Regions from separate parts of the Homo sapiens genome. Here region 1 is linked to region 2. Evidence: promoter capture Hi-C in human tissues and cell types (Jung and others, 2019). All regions are on one chromosome and are shown on one strand. Each heading gives the region's core, a stretch centred on a gene start or on the middle of the fragment in contact. The rest is flanking DNA. Distances are from core to core; before and after follow the strand shown.

Region 1 (2,700 bases), core at 20-2,519, 280 kb after region 2:
AATTTCCTTAATATATCTAAGCCAGATTTATGAAACAATTAAAAATGGCATCTTATTTTTTTTTAAAGTCTTTTACCAGTTAAGGAAGAGCGTGTACTACCAAAGCAAAACAGGTTTTGCCTCTGGCGAGTCTGAGAAGTAGGAATGGCTATTTACACAGACCCTTCTTCAAAGTGTGAAGGAGGGCTCAAACACTGTAAATGGTGATTTTAGCCTTCAGCCAGATTCCAAACTTGGAAGGAAAGAAAAGTCCTCACAAAACCATGTCGCCTCATGTGAAGTGATGTCATCATGTTGGGGAGAGGTTACCTAGAGAAGATGAAGCATCTTACAGATTACTTTATTTGTGAGCTGTTTCTGATTATTCCAATGGAGGGAAGGTCACTTTGAATAATGACGCCTTGTCATTCCTTCTGTGGGGAATCTACACTACTAGTCACCAGATGTGCTGGGTCAGGCACTTCAGGCTTCCTGACCATAAGCTCCACGTGTTCAGGTCCCCTTTGTGTGTGTGCCCTTGCTGGAGGAAGGCCAACCTGAAGCCTGCTCTCCCTGCCCACCACCCCAATTAAGGAAAGCTGTGGTTTGTGATGATTTATCATCAATATCTGTGTCTACAGGCCCAGTCATCTTCTCCGAGTATGAAGGTTTGGCCTGACTGTAGTTCAGCAGCTTCCCATGTAGAACTTTATTCGTCCTTTTGAGCTAACTATTAAATACTATTGAGCCTTTTCTGAAATGGGAATTTTCCTCTTTAGACATCATTACAAAATCCTGTGACTCGACGGGACTTTGAAGATCAGTTGCTCTTGCAGATCTTTACATTTTCAACGTTTTAAAGACTCTTAAAAGGTATAAAATGAGTCCTATTGAAATCAAATTCACTATGTAGCACAAACTTGCTCATCTTGATAGTAAGTGAGCCTTCATGTGTTGGAATTTTCAGGAAATGAAGATGTCGCCTAATGATGTAGATGGTAGATTGAGAGGGATTTACAGTTATTATACTTGCCAATTCTACACCGAATTGAGGACTCTCCTGTGCAGAATTCTGCCAGACAGTTTTGAGACCTTTTCTTGACTTTCTTCCCCTGGAGAAGGCTTTCTGGCCTCTCTGTAAAGTTCACCCAATGGTCTTAGATCCACCCTCTGCAACTTACTAGAACCATAGGAATAAGTAAATCCCTTTTTCAAATGGAACCTTTCAACTATTTGAAGAGAACACAATCATGCCTCCCTTCAAACCTCATTCTTGCTGGACGCAGTGGCTCACTTCTGCAATCCCGGCACTTTGGGAGGCCGAGGCGGGTGGATCACTTGAGGTCAGGAGTTTGAGGACAGCCTGGCCAACACGATGAAACCCTCTCTCTACTAAAAATGCAAAAATTAGCTGGGCATGGTGGTGTGCGCCTATAGTCTCAGCTACTCAGGAGGCAAAGGTGGGAGAATCACTTGAATACAGGAGGCGGAGGTTGCAGTGAGCTGAGTTCGCACCATTGCACTCCAGCTCAGGCAACAGAGCAAGACTCTGTCTCAAAAACAAAAACAAAACTAAAAAACCAAAAGTCCTCGTGTCTTCTGTTCCAGGACAAGTCCCCAGTTTCCTCAATTGTTCTTTCCCATGGTTTTTGTTTATTTTTATTTTTGAGACGGAGTTTCGCTCTTGTCACCCAGGCTGGAGTGCAATGGCGTGATCTCGGTTCACTGCAACTTCTGCCTCCTGGGTTCAAGTGATTCTCCTACCTCAGCCTCCTGAGTAGCTGGAACTACAGGTGCCCACCACCATGCCTGGCTAATATTTTGTATTTTTAATACAGACGGGGTAACACCACGTTGGCCAGGCTGGTCTCAAACTCCTGACCTCAGGTGATCGGCCTGCCTCAGCCTCCCAAAGTGCTGGGATTACAGGCATGAGCCACCGCGCCTGGCCAGCCATGTGTATCTTAATGGAAAAAATAAAGACACAAATCAGAACATTAGATATTTTATTCTAATTTGATACTCTGTTGAGCCTCCTATAGGTAACGTGGCTTCTCTCTAAGAAAATAACTCATCACTGCTCCCCAAGGCTACTCCTTCCCTAGCATTACCCATCTTAGTATTAATAATAGGATAACCATTTACTCAGGGGTTTGTTTAAGCCCAAATGCCTAGCATCATTCTTTAATCCTCTTTCCCTCATAGCCATCCACCAACAAGTTCTGTAGGCTCCCTCTTCAAAATAGATCCCAGTGTCCAGTTCTCCACCTCACTTCCTCCACCACCAGCACCTTAATTCACATCACTAGCTCATTCTCCTGGAGACTGAAGTCACCCCTCCCTCATCTCCCTGCCTCTCCTCTTGGCTTCCTATAGACTGTTCTCCACACAGAAGTCAGAGTGTTTTCCTCAAAGTACAGATCAGATGAGATTTATGCCCTGCTAAACACCACCTCATACTTCCCTCGGCAATGTGGATAAAATCCAAGCTCCTGTTCATGTTGCCAAGGCCCTTCAAGATCTCACCTGCCTCCAGCACCACTGGCTCACTCTGCTGTGGCCACACTGGCTTCTTGGTGGTTCTAGAATATTCCTTATTCATTTCTACCTCAGGGCCCGTGTGCTCCCTGCTCCTGTAATATAATTTAAAAGGTTGACAATGACATCCTCATTTAATTTCTACCTGAATCATTGCTGTGAATTTTATATTGGAAATGCAGA
Region 2 (2,700 bases), core at 55-2,554:
TTTCGCTTTGAAAGCGATCAGTTTAGAGAGATGAATGACTAATCCCAGAAATGAGTATCTGAGCATTTCCCTGCGGATGGTCGGTGCTAACATTTACTGTGCTGCGCTACTACTCAGAATTTTAATAAAGCTTAACGTGGAGATTTATCTCTCTGATTGGTGGTGGTGTGGGCAGGCAGATAACGCACAGGCGCTTCCATTGTATGGAACAAATATAATCTCTTACTGGCGAATTAAAATAAATTACTCCTGTCTCCAAAGGGGACTGCTCATTTCTTTACTTTCTAAATAACTAGCGCGTCAACTACTGTTTTAGGCTACCCTGAAATTGTGTACAGGCTAACATAAAAGGTCTCCTGCCGTAAAAAATAAAATAGGATAACACACACGCAACCCAAACACACACAAGCAAACACTCAGTTACCTCTTCATTCAAATGCTGTAGGAACGAGAAAATAAAGGCAGCCCAGCGCAACCAGATCTCATTTCCGACAGGTTCCCCACGCTCTCCTCGCACGACCGAGGGGTCCCCAGCCCGGGCCCTGGACGCGGCGAGCAGGTGACCATGGCACCCCGCGCCCCGCAGGTTCCCGCGGTGCCGCAGCCTTCAGGTGTCTTGGGCGCCCCAGATCCTCCGGGCCCGGCGCCGCTCCAGGAAGTCACCCTCAAAGCCGGGGCGCCAGGCCACCTCGGACACGCTCTCCTGTGCCCCCACTCCCGTTCGCGAAATCATGTTCGCCGGGACATCCACTGGGCAGGACCCCCTACCAGGCCTGCGTTTCCTTTTAAAAACAAAAGCGAGCGAAACAAGCCAGCGCGCCCTGGCCGCGCCCGCCGCTAGGCGACCCCGAAGACAGCGGCCCTAGCACGCAGGAACCCCCCGGCCGACCCCGCCAGCCCCGGAGGCCACTCCATAACCGGAAAACGAGCCGGCGCGGAACTCAGACGCGCGCCCCTAGAGTCCTCGCAGCAGCCGCCACCCCCACCTGCACCCCCGGCAGCGCCCCGAGATCTGCGTGTCAGTGCCCCCCGCGACCCCCGCCCAGGCCCCGGGTGACCCTCCATGGGACTGGAGCCGCGCGCCGGGCGCTCTCTGCGGGCCCAGCTCTTACCCTGCCGCTGCGGGCAGGGCCGGCGCTTGGTCGGGACGGTGGCTGCTCGGCGCCCGCGGCTGCTCGGTGCGCGCCGGGCGAGGGCGAGGGCGCCGGCCAGAGACGATCAGGGAGGCCGGACGCTGGCCGGGCGGCTCCGGGAGCTCTGAGCTGGAGCGACACCGCACTCGTCAGTCTCTGGAGGAAGTAACCGGGCCGTCCCCCACGCGGCGCGCTCTTCAGGAGCGGGAGGAGGAGGGAGGAGGGAGGAGGAAGGAGGGACGGCCGAGTGGAGGGGAGGGGAGGAAACGAGGGAGGAGAGAAGAGAGAGGGGAGGGAAGGGGAGGAGAGAGAAGAGGAGGGGAAGGGAGGTAGGCAGGATGGGGAGAAGCGGGAGGAGAGGGAAGGGGGCAGCAGGAGGGTTGGGGGAGCGGAGGGAGAGGAGAGGGAACGCACGAGGGGAGAGAAGAGGAGGGCGGAGGCGGCGAGGGAGCGCGGGGCGGGGCTGACACCTTCCGGCCCAACCTTCCCTCCGCCTCCTGCTGTCACTCGGCTGGGTCCCTCGCCGGCTGGCCCTGAGGCCCCGGGAGCAGGGCCTCGGCCCCACGTGCGCGCGAGTGTGCGCCCTGGGAGCCGGGCGGAGACTTTCCGTGGAGCGCTCGGCGTCCTCTCTGGGGCCAAGGCCCTAACGCCAAACCTGCCTTTGGAATTCCGCAGCGACGGAGCAGTGGTGCTGGTGGCACCGAAGGGCAGCCGGGCTTGGGTAATAAGGCCCTGAAATTGAGCCGACCCCATTCTTGAACCTCTGAATGGGCTTAGGACTAATGATCATTCTATCACAAAAAGGCTCCAAATGAGGCGCTTCCTGTAGAAACCGGGCCCTGGCTGTGTCCCCGAGTCGTGGTGCTGATCGCGCTGCTCCCGGGAAGCCCCGATCCCGCAGGCTCCGCGGGAGTGGCGCCCTCTGGAGCTGAGCGGTGCCCAGATAGCGACCCGCCTTGGCCGCGCTTCAATCTGGGCTGGGCACTCCACGCACATCATCGTCACTCTCGGAGGACTTGCGGCTCCCACTTTACACAGGTGGGAACTGAACCTTAGGATGAATAACCTGCCACGTCAGATTGATGAGAAATTCAAGGTGGAAACCTGAGTTTATCTGACTCCGAAACCCTGGTCAAAACCACCCCCTACACTGTGGTTTCCGTTTTTATCAGAAGGTGCTTGAGTCCATGGCTGTTTGGACTCAGGTCACATGCTCAATATTTTGCAGGAAAGTTTAGATTCCTGAAGTTGTGGATGAAATAGGAAACCCCAGCTTAGGCGAGGCCACGGGGCTGAAAGCTGCTCACATCTCAAGAACTGCGGCACCACCGGGAAGGGAGAGGAATGGCCCAGCTTCTCTGTGACTCAGGGTTCTAGGTTTCCATGGTGACTCTAGGTCTAGAGTTATCCGGATAATTGAGATATCGGTGCACCTTAATGTTTCTGGGTCCCCGAAGGTCTCCGGGTATCACCGTGGCATGAGTCACAGTCAGAATCTATACGGCTGAAACAATCACGTATAGGGGAAGTGATTATTTCTTGGAGACTGAATTGATTCTGATGGCTT

The links. Contacts are between HindIII fragments. The study calls those that stand out against the background at their distance.
Region 1: a fragment that was not itself captured here is called in contact with the fragment with the promoter of ETS2 in region 2 in 1 of the 25 tissues and cell types used here (dorsolateral prefrontal cortex).

The regions. Positions count from the first base shown.
Region 1 is chr21:38,528,913-38,531,612 of GRCh38, reverse strand. The region is part of intron 1 of LOC105372802 (a long non-coding RNA gene); the gene reads right to left. It also overlaps a transcript of ERG not described here. Among named protein-coding and RNA genes, the nearest start is that of ERG, 32 kb to the right of the region's middle. The HindIII fragment of the contact is 4,107 bases long and covers 1-2,700 here.
Region 2 is chr21:38,804,533-38,807,232 of GRCh38, reverse strand. ETS2 (ETS proto-oncogene 2, transcription factor) reads right to left here and starts at 1,304. Exons shown (of 10, transcript NM_005239.6): 1 at 1,113-1,304. RefSeq lists silencers at 582-681, 702-801, 912-1,201, 1,392-1,461, 1,482-1,811 and enhancers at 1,922-2,081, 2,092-2,151, 2,332-2,471, 2,005-2,505. The HindIII fragment of the contact is 2,481 bases long and covers 1-2,391 here.